Regions from separate parts of the Homo sapiens genome. Here region 1 is linked to region 2. Evidence: promoter capture Hi-C in human tissues and cell types (Jung and others, 2019). All regions are on one chromosome and are shown on one strand. Each heading gives the region's core, a stretch centred on a gene start or on the middle of the fragment in contact. The rest is flanking DNA. Distances are from core to core; before and after follow the strand shown.

Region 1 (5,360 bases), core at 193-2,692, 290 kb before region 2:
TCATGGTATTATTCAGTCATACAAAGGCCCTTTAAAGAGATTAGGGTAGGCCTCATAGATCCTCCAGATCAAACAATAGGGACTCTAGGAAGCCAAGGGGCTGTCCCTTGGCCATCTTTTCAAGAGGCTCAGGTTGAAAAGTTTAGTTCTCAAAGAAATTTGTGGGTTTGTTTTTTTGTGTAATAGAGGGAATCTCAGTGCAATTTACAGAAGACCCAGAAGGTTTCTGAGAAAACCTATGAGAAGAAACACAGCTGGGACAGAAAGGAACAGAGACAGTACAAAATAAAATGAGGCCATTGGACCCCTAAAATTCTCAGCAGGAAACAGGCTGAGAAAACAAGTCAGCTTTAAACACAGGTTTCCTTTCATGAAAAAGGAAGGATTACTCAGAGGGAAGAACCAAGAGCTTAGAAGGTGGAGCTAAGAGTCATGGAGAATTATCCCCAGGCTTTGAAACCTAACCAAGAAACTTGCAGTCTTTTCCTGGCTGGATTTCAAAATTGTTACGGACCAGTGACGCCTTTGTTCCTCACATTTTCCTCCCTTTGAGTAGCAGTGTTTATAGCCATTCCTCTATACCTAACCTGCCATTGTATGTTGGGCATATGGGGGGCAGATAATTTATCTCCTTAGCTTTTCAAATCACCAAATCTGTAGTAACAGTATTCTAGAACTTGTACTTAAGGAATTATACCCAAGAGCCTCATCCACACCTGCACCTGATTTAGATGATGAGATCCTGGACTTTCAGTTGGTGCTCCCACGGGAGGAGATGTTAGAGACCTTGGGAAGGATGATTGCATTTTGTGTGTGGAAGGGACATGTATTCTGCATGTGGAAGGGACAAGAATCATTGGAGAGCCAGAGGGTAGATTGTGATAGGCAGCTTCAGAAATGACTCTAAATTTCTTTCTCTTCTGGTATTCATGTCCTTGTGCAGTCCCCTCCCTTTGTGTGTGGGCTGGACCTAGTGATTTGCTTCTAAAGAATAGAATACAGAAAAAGTGATAGAATGTCACTTCTCATATCAGGTTATAAAAGACTGTCACTTCTGTCTTATCCTCTCTCTCTGGCTCTACTCTCTGGCTTGCTCTGATGAAGCAGCTGGGTTGAAAGCTTCCCTTTGGAGAAGAACTGAGGGCTGTCTCTGGTCAATAGCACTGAGGAACTGAATCCAGCAAACAATTATGTGAAGAAACTTGGAAGCTTGTCCTCCCCTCTAGTTGAGCTTTGAGATGACTGCCGCCCTAGTGGACACCTTGATTGAAGCCTTATGAGAAACCCTAAGCCAGAGAACCCAATTAAGCTACGCTTACATTCCTAACACAGAGAAAATATGAGCTAATAAATGTTGTTTCAAACCACTAAGCTTTGGAGTAATATGTGACACAGCAACAGACACCTAACGCACCTGCCCTAAGGTCGGGCTACACTGCATTTTCCCCAGAAACATTACACTCTCTCCTCCCCAGGGCCTTTGCACATACTTCTCATCTCTCCTACCTTTTAGGTCTGGTAGACTTCAACCTGTTCTACAGACTTAGGTCAGGTATCCCTTCCTCTAGGAAGCTGTCTTTGATGCTCCAACTCCCTTGTGTGTTCCCATAATAGCTTATGTAAGTTCATACAATGCCATCCCAATGCACAGCACATTATAGCAACTGTTTGTCCCCTCAACTGGTAGAGAAGGGAAGGGATCTTGCCTTATTCATCACAGTGCTCTAAAATTTAACACAATGCGTCACATGGAGTAGAATGATAATAGCACACTTTTATTGAATGCCTACATCATACCTGGTAAGAAATAATTCATTGCAGGATTTGGGCTTGTGTTAGATGATTTGGGTACTGTTTGAAGCCATTTAATGCAATTATTTTACTTAAGAAAAACATTCAATGAGAGCGGTACTTTAAACACCCCATTTTACAGACAACTTGAACAGCAGGTTAGGTGCTCAGTTCATGTTTGATGGAAAATGAACAATTGAATCATGAGAAGCATGTTTTTTCTTCTGTCCTGTGTCTCCCTTCTCTCAAGAACTCTTTGCAAATACCAGAGTATTTGTATTTTGTGTGTGGAAGGGACATGTATTTTGCATGTGGGCCAGAAGGCCTCCTGGGCATCTGGACATCCACTTTGTGCTTGACTGGTCATGTTACCTAGCTTGGTATTTCCAGATAAGTACCTGGATCTATCCCTGGGTGTCTCAAAGGGAGGGCTTGGTTAGCACCCAGAGAGTTTGATGGGCACCAGAAACCACACCTCCAGCTCTTCGCCCACAGCTGTGCCTCTGGCTCCCAGACAGAATCAGCATTTTCCTCTCCCCACACTCTGTCATTATAAACCACGTAAATTCCTCGATACCCATGTTACAACGAACAGATGCGGCTCTGTATTTTTAATGTATTATCTCTAATTAGCAGCAGTGGGCATGGAAGAACTCTGTGGTCCCTGGGGCTGTCCCTCACTGATGCAGCTGCGAGTACATTTGTGATGAAGAATCTGGCCAGGCTCCTCTGGCCCGCACAGCCCTGGCAAGTGGGTGAGGGAACTTCCATGTGCAAAGTATCTACTCTGCCAGGAAGTGGGAAAGGGCCGCCAAGGCCTGATCATCAGTCCACTGCTCATCTAGCCCCCACTCCCACCCCTCTATGCTGTCTAAATACCCTGAGAGGATGTCCTTCATTGGGATCCCAGAGACAGGGCAGACAACAGCCTCCAATGTCATGGGCAAAACAGATTTTTCTAGGTTTGAGGTCTGCAGTGTGAAGATCTGTGAAATGCAAAAAGAGAATGCTTCAGTGCCCAGGGCAAACATAAGGGGCGGGGGAACTGCATGGACTTCAGAAAAGAAGGGGGCTGGTTAGTGAGAGCAAATGTATGCTCCTTAGCTCTGTCCAAAGAGGAAGGGTATTTCTTATAATAAATGTCATGCTCATGACTGACATGTTTTGGGCGTTTACTATGGACTAAGCCCTATTTCTAAGTGTTCTCCAGATATCATCACGTATAATTCTAGAGGCAGTGTCAGCCCCCGGCCAATGACCACCATGGACCTCCCTGTAGTTGAACAAAGTTGGGTTTGCTGACTGGTGGCAGTGAGGGAGAATGCACACCACAGGGAGCTGTGCAGTGTCTCAGTAAGAAGGTAAGAAATAATTCACTGTAGGATTCGGGCTTGTGTTAGTTAATTGGGGGAGGGTTCAAGGAAGCAGAGCTTTGCCCTGGATTGGAGACTGGAGGTAGGTGTAATTCTCTGGTTGGGTACTTCATAAATTTTATTTACAAGGCAGGAGGAATGAAGGAAGATAAGAGTTGTAATTGGTAAAGAAGCAGCCATCACTCACATCAGCCAAGAGGTGGAGGGAGGGGGGCTGTTAAGTCATCTTTGTATTTTGAATAATGTTCTTGTTTTTGTCTGAATTCATGATGTTGAAATGGTCTTGTTTTTGTCTTCATCTATCAGGGTCCTAGAGTGGTTTTGTCCGGCATTGACATTCAGTGAAATTGTTTATGGTCAACAGGAGAACCCCAAGGTCTAGGTGTAGGTGCCAGGCCAGCTCTCGGCAGCAAAAGGCCTTACTGATAGTGCCAGGCCAGCTTGCAGCCATCAGGGGCTGCTGTTCTCCTTCTCAGCAGGCCCTGTTACTATGCCAGTTTACAGAAATAAAGAAATTGAGGCAAAGACAGATTGCCTGGTCTTAGTTGTCTCACAGCTGGGAAGCAGCAGAGATTCCAGAGTCCCTGAAAGTCAAGTGAGCATCAAGAGACAACAGAGGGAACTAAAGGGGAGAGTTTGTAATTACGGGAAGCCAGCCTGACCATGAGGGGAACTGGTCAAGAGATAGAACACAGGATTTGTAGTCAGAGATCTCTACCTTGGGAATCTGTCATTGCTACTTACTAGCCATGTGGCCCTGGGCAATTTGTCGAACATGAGAAATTCACTTTATTCTTATGTATAATGGCAACACCAAAAGCTGTTTCTCAGGGTCATATGGGAATAGAATGAGAAGACATGGCATAAAGAACTTACGTACCACTTGGGACACAGATGCTGCCCTGAGTATTTACTGAACGCCAGGCACTGTTCTAAGTCCCTCGCATGTATTTACTCATCTATTACAGCAACCCTTTATAACCTGTGGCTTGCAGGTGAGAAGATGGAGACACAGAGAGGTTAGGCGACTTGCTTGAGGTCACACAGCTATCAAGTAGCAGAACTCAGGCATCCTGGCTGCAGCACCCACACTCTACCATGTGTCATAGTAGCTGTGGGGTCATTGCTCCTTGTCCACTCTAAGTGCTCCAGATCATGAGCTTCAAGACCCTAGTCTTATTCTGATGGTGATTTAATGCCCTGGAACTCTCAAGGCCCCAGACTTTTGCTTGTGAATGGGTCTAAGCTGCTTGCTTGGCTCTGGTCCGGAGAGCATTCATTTCCTTTTAGAAGGTCAAAACATTCTTGGCATGACAGATAATATAGATTCAGGTTGCTGCAGTCTATAGATCAAATAAAACATAGTATTGCCTTATTAGTATTTCTACACCTTTCAGTAAGTAGTAGAGTCAGAGAAAACCCTGAAAAATGAGTATAAACTAAAGAGGGTAGGAGAATGACTCAATGCTGCAGCACAAGCCCTCTTTTGGCAAGATCGATGTGTGGGCAGAAGGCAAATGGCTGCTGAGAGGAAATGGGCCACACCTGGCTGGTCTTATTCTATCCTGTAATGGCAGAAAGCTGTTCAGGATGGCTATGGCGCACAGCCCAGGGCTGACTCAGCATTGCCTCTTCCTAACCTGTTGAGTGGGTTTATAGATTGTGTCACAAGTTCTGGGAAAATGAGAGGTCAGGATTCCTGGGCCCAATGGCTCGTTAACAGAGGTCCTGTGTGCCATCACCCCCTCCAGTCCTTGTCCCACTGGACTTGTCCCCCTTGTCGCACTGGGGGAGATGAGGGCCTGGAACTCACAGCAAAATTCTCTCTGTGGCTTGATGCAATCCCAGATCCTCACCATCAACCTTTGTGAGGCTCATCTGTTCTTAATTATATCTCTAAATCCCGAGGCATTACAACTCTGAGAATTTGGGAAATTTAGCTGCTTAGAGGATTCATAATAATCACAAAATCCCTGGTATTTACAGAGCTCCCTTTTGCAGACTGTGAAAGGCAGACAAGACAATACTGTAGTGGTAAAGGCACCCCGAAATTGCTCTCAAGTTCTCTTCACTGAATGCCAGGCCCTTAGTCTGTATTATTTTGTGTAGCTCAAGGGGGCAAATTGAAAAGAATACTTTTCCCTATTACTTTCTGAGAGAGACCACAGAGAAGAGAGAGATGTTAAGTTAATGTCG
Region 2 (5,422 bases), core at 2,825-5,324:
GGAACCACCAGCTCACAAAGGAAATACGGGAGGCTTAAGAAAGAAGCTAATAAGATTGCTCTGGAAGGGAAATATCTAAGTGAAGATGTCCAAGGATCAGCTGGATACATGGGTTACCTAGACCCAGAATTCCCATGGACCAGGAAGCCAATAGATGAATTTCAGGAGAGATGTCTTGGCAGAAGAGATCTGTCTGGAAGCTTCAGAGTGTGGTAGTGAAAGGGTTGGGCAAGGATGAGCTCACCCAGAGAGTGGTGAAAAGGAATGGGAAAAAGTACAAAGAATTAAATGCTGCAGGACACTATACTTCAGGGAGGGGAATAAGTGTTAGTATTAGAGACTGAGAAGGAACACGCAAGAGATAGGAGAAAAATCAGTAAAACATAGTGTCCCAGAAGCCCAAGGAAGAGAAATTCATCCAAAGTGGCCACAGCCACAGAGAGATAAAAGAAAATAAAGATAAAGTACAATGTATTTGGCAATTGAGGTGGTCATTGGTGCTCTCTTCTAGAGTGTTCCAGTGTCATCCTGGAGACAGAGGTTGAAGTAAGGAGTGACGGGTAGTAGAGAAAACTGACATGAAGACCCCTTTGAAGAGAAGTGACTAAAAGACAAAAAGAGATGGGGCAGTGGCTTAGATAGGTCAATAGGGCCAAGAAGGCTTCTTGGCTTGTTTTGTGGTAAAGATGAGCCTGTTCACAGGTCAAAGGGAAATGTGTTTTAAGAAGGGAGGGTGGCCAGGTGCGGTGGATCACGCCTGTAATCCCAGCACTTTGGGAGGGCAAGGTGGGCAGATCATGAGGTCAGGAGTTCGAGACCAGCCTGACCAACATGGAGAAACCCCCCTTCTCTATTAAAAATACAAAATTAGCTGGGCATGGTGGCATGCGCCTGTAATCACAGCTACTCAGGAGGCTGAGGCAGGAGAATCACTTGAACCCGGGAGGCAGAGGTTGCAGCAAGCCGAGATTGCGCCATTGCACTCCAGCCTGGACAACAAAAGAGTGAAACTCCCTCTCAAAAAAAAAAAAAAAAAAAAGGGAGGATGATTGATAGGGACAGCAGGTAATTGGTGGGAAGTCTCCAGGGAGGCTGGGGTGGGGAGGGGGAGGGGGAGTGCAAGGCAGGACAAGGACTAAAGGGGTTGAGGGGAGAAGGTATGGGTGGGTGAGGAGACTCCCCTTTTTCAAACTATTTTATTCATTTATCCAGTGATCACTGAGCCGAGGAAGGGAGACGGTTCAGTCCTGAGCATCTTTTAAATTCAACAGTGTGAACTGAACACAAAATGAATGTGTTTCCCCTTCTAATGTACCAAATCCTGCCGATCTTCTGTCACCAAGTCCATTTCCAAATCTCTGCTGCCTGCAAGGCCAAACAGCCCATCTAAAGGCGGGAAAGGCTTAAAAAGAAATGTACTGGGCTGGGCGCGGTGGCTCACATCTGTAAGCCCAGCACTTTGGGAGGCAGAGGCAGGCGGATCACCTGAAGTCAGGAGCTCGAGACCAGCCTGGCCAACATGGTGAAACCCCATCTCTCCTAAAAATACAAAAATTAACCGGGCGTGGTGACGGTCGCCTGTAATCCCAGCTACTCGGAAGACTGAGGCAGGAGAATCGCTTGAACCCAGGAGGCGGAGGTTGCAGTGAGCTGAGACCGCGCCATTGCACTCCAGCCTGGGCGAGAAGAGCAAAACTCCGTCTTAAAAAAAATTTAAAAAGAAAGAGAAGAAAAGAAAAGAAATGTACTGGAAGCTTGCAAGCCAGAGCAGGGCCTGCCGGAGAGGAACTACCCCAAGCCATGAACACAAGGCCCCCTCCCCGCAACTTCTCTACTGAGCAAGGAGCTGCGAGCAAATGGATCTCTATAGGGCAGGATTCCAGCACCGCTGAGCGGTGCAAGCGCCGGTGAGTCGGCCTTTTTCTCTCCCCTAGGGGCAGGATATGCCCAAGGGGCAGGGACAAATCTAGCCAGAAAAACAATTCAGTCCGATGCCGAGACATTCTCCAATCAGCTAAGCCAGAGACCGGCCTCGCCTCAACGTACGTCCGGGAGGCCTGGCGGGAGGTAGCAGCGATTCCCCCACCGCCCATGTGGCAAGTCTGGGTGACCAGCAGCGTCGGTATGCACAGCCTCCCAGTGGGTGTGGGTGTGCGAGAGGCCAGAGCTCCCAGGCGCGCGCACCGCGGGCGCCCCTCTCTGGGTGTCGGTGGCTATGACTCTTAGCAGAACCTAAGAAAGTCCCGTCAGCTAGGAATGAGAGAGCCAGAGCTGGCTCGGGGCGCCCTCCCTGACCAAGAACCCCAACATGCCGCGGTTAAGCGGTGGGCGACACGGTCTGCGAGGACAGACTCACAAGACGCTGAAGGCCAGAGTGGGCCAGAGAGCTCGCCACTCACTGACCTGCCAGAGGAGAGGCGCACTTTCCCAAGAAGGGGAACTGGGGTGGTCCAGGCCAAGCCTTCAGAGGTTCAATCGGTGGTTTCAAAACAAAACAAAACAAAACAAAAACAAAAACAAAAAAGAAAACACGGCTCCAGGTCGAAGGTGCCCTAGGTCTAGGCCTGGCCAGCAGGTGTTTCGGTTTCTCCCCCAGTGGGTGTCAGCCTCGCGGGCTAAATGAAAATGCGGTTCCAGGCATCCCGGTTTGGACCCGTCTCCACCCGGGCACACGGAACTTTCTAGCTTGTAGCTAGAACTGAGCTTCGGAGGGGTGCTGTGGGTAAAGCGGGAGGGCACCAGTCGCGGCCAGTAGCCTCCACAGGGGACCGGGTTCCCTCGAAGGTTCGCGTACCTCCCCCGCGCGCTGCAAGCTGCAGCCAGACACCCGCGAAGTTCCGGGACTCTCCGCACCCGCTAGATCTGCCCCTTCCCGGACTCGGTCGTCGGGAGCTGGTCCCGCCGCCCGCGCCGCCGCTGCCGCTGCCGCAGCCGAGGCGCTCGGCTGCAGCAGGGCGCGGGAAAGGGCACTTTGGCGCGGAGTGAGCACCGAGGGGAATGTGGCAGCGCGAAGCCTGGCGGCGGCACTCCCTCCCCCGCCTCGGGCTACAACCCCCACCCCCTCCTTCCCATCCCTCAACACCCTCCAGCCCCCACCTGCACCCTCCTGCAAGGAATGCGCGGGACCCCCACCGTGGGCACGCGTCCACCTGAACCCCCTCCTAGCTCCGAGCGCCGAGGGAGGGGTAGCATTTGAGGAGGGGGATGGCGGCCGCAGTCTGCAGTCGGTTCCAGAGGGGGCACCGGTTTCAATTGGAGAAAATGGGCGGGGGCAGGGAAGGGCAGACCTTGCAGACGCAGAAATGGGGAGGGGGCGCACGGTTCCTCTCCAGCCCCCAGGACCAGCGTGCCTGGCAGAATCAGGAGCCGGGGGAGTAGGGCTCCCGGAAAGTTTATCGGGAAAAAGCCTAGCACCGTGGGGGCTGGGAGGCTGGAGAAACTGAAGCCACAGACCAGGTGCCCCGCAACCCCGGGCGGGGATGTCTGTCTCCCAGGCCCCCACACCGGCCGCATCCGTCCAAGTTGCGGCTGGGGTTGGGGCAGCAGTGAGGGTGAGGGTGGAGGTGAGGACGTGGCTGAGGGTGGGGTGGGAGACGGAGGCAGGGATGAGAATGAGAGTAGGCAACTGGGAGGGTGGGAGATTCAGGCAGGGATAGAGGCGGGGGGAGGGACTGGGACCGGGTCGAGGATGGGTGGGCTCGGGGCTCGGGTGGGGCGCGCGGCGGCCGCTGGCTCCTCGGCGCGGCTGGACTCACCCGCGGCGGCCGAGACGCTGAGCAACCCACAGCCCAGCAACAGCAGCAGAGGCGGCGGCGTTGGCGGCGGCGGGCGGCCCCAGCGGCTCCCGGCGCCCGGCACAAGCGCCGAAATCCCGGTTTCGCCGCGAGCCCTCCCCGCGGGGCAGCCGCAGCGCCCCAGCTCCCGTCCCCGCGAGCGCGGCATGGCGCGGCCGGCAGCGCCGAGGGAGAGGCTCCGCTCGCCGCCGAGGAGAAAGGAGGTCAGGAGAGCTCTGGAGCTTTTTTCTGCTCGGAAAAAATCCCGGTACGCGGGAGCCCTGAGCTTCTGCGGCTGGAATGAACCAAGTGTCCGCCCGGCCGGGGAGAGGCGCGCTGCGCTCTCGGAAATGACTCGCTCCAATCCCGCTTCGCGGGGTTCGCGCCGGGGGGCGGGAGGGGGTGAATTATCCCCGGATTAATCACTCCGGAGCCGCTTCTCCGCCGCTCCAAATGCTGGGGGTGGAGGCGCAGCTAAGGATAAAATATTGGGGGGCGGGGGTTCCTCTTCAGCGCCACCTCCACCTCCAGATAAACCACAAATTACATCTAAAGGGTTGTTTATCCGTGTCTGTTTTGCAATTGACCAGTTTCTTTTAAGTTCAGTCCTCCTGTTTTCATTTATAACATCACCCATTAATACACCCCCCTCTCCACACACACACACACAAACACACACACACACACACAGTGACAGAGACACACGCACTCACACACACAGGCACATACACGCACACCTCTTCCACGTTTGGAAATTGGAATCCTGTCTGGGAAAAGGTAACCAAAGAAGGACGCGTTCCCCAAGTCTTGGCTCTTACCAGCTGATCTTGGGTGGTGGCTTTGAACTTGCCATCTAGGGCCGGGGGCGATGCTTATGAGCCTCATTCACAATAGCCTCCTACCCCATCCCAGGAGAGGGGCGTGTGTGCGTAGACAGAGGCAGGGTTAAGAATTGGAGGGCGGTGGAGGGGGGTTGTGTGTGGGGTGGGGAGGGGGGGGAACCGGTTCATTTGACCCAGTGCGGTCCCACTCCTACCCTAAGACAAAAATCTCAGGGTGGCAGAGGCGGTCCCTGTGTGCACGCGAGTTGGGGGTGGGGAGTGAGGTTGGTGGAAGGACGGTGCAAGAGTTACTAGTACAATTTATCCCCAAATTTAAATAATCGGATCCTACTTCTTCTTCTCCCCTTCCTCCTCCCAGCCAAGGCCCCAAACCAAGAGAGTTCTTCCCAAGGACGTGAGCTGCTCCCCACCTCTCCCCAGTAGCGGCTGCCTCTAGGCCCCAAGGGCTTAGTGTCGGTCCCCACCCCATCCCCCACCCGACTCGGTCGCCGTCTCTGTCTCGTCTACTCCAGGCTTCTCCGCCAGTCACGATGGCTCCTTCGCTGTCTACGCCAAACTCTCGGCGAGAGGGAAGAGACGCTTCATGGGGGGAGGCTGGAGGAAACTGGGAGGGGCAAGGTCCAGAGAGGAGGCTTCTGCTGGCGCGTGCAGTGGAAAGGCACCTGCGATGGGCACCCCCGCCCCCTTTGCCGACACACCCCAGAGAAGCTGTGCTCCGGGCTTAGGGCAGCCTGATTTGGCCAAAACGGAGCGTTGGCATCTGTGTGGCCAAGGGGGCAGTGGCCGGCGGGCGGTGGGGCCTGAGAA

What was found. Contacts are between HindIII fragments. The study calls those that stand out against the background at their distance.
Region 1: a fragment that was not itself captured here is called in contact with the fragment with the promoter of CSMD2 in region 2 in 1 of the 25 tissues and cell types used here (dorsolateral prefrontal cortex).

What each region holds. Positions count from the first base shown.
Region 1 is chr1:33,872,441-33,877,800 of GRCh38, forward strand. All of the region lies in intron 5 of CSMD2 (CUB and Sushi multiple domains 2), which reads right to left. CSMD2-AS1 (CSMD2 antisense RNA 1) reads left to right here. Exons shown (of 8, transcript NR_038372.1): 4 at 3,026-3,152. Among named protein-coding and RNA genes, the nearest start is that of CSMD2-AS1, 6.2 kb to the left of the region's middle. The HindIII fragment of the contact is 6,085 bases long and covers 1-4,485 here.
Region 2 is chr1:34,161,156-34,166,577 of GRCh38, forward strand. It overlaps CSMD2 (CUB and Sushi multiple domains 2), which reads right to left and starts at 4,075. Exons shown (of 71, transcript NM_001281956.2): 1 at 3,756-4,075. The coding sequence starts at 3,942. RefSeq lists enhancers at 1,976-2,105, 2,526-2,585. The HindIII fragment of the contact is 8,389 bases long and covers 978-5,422 here.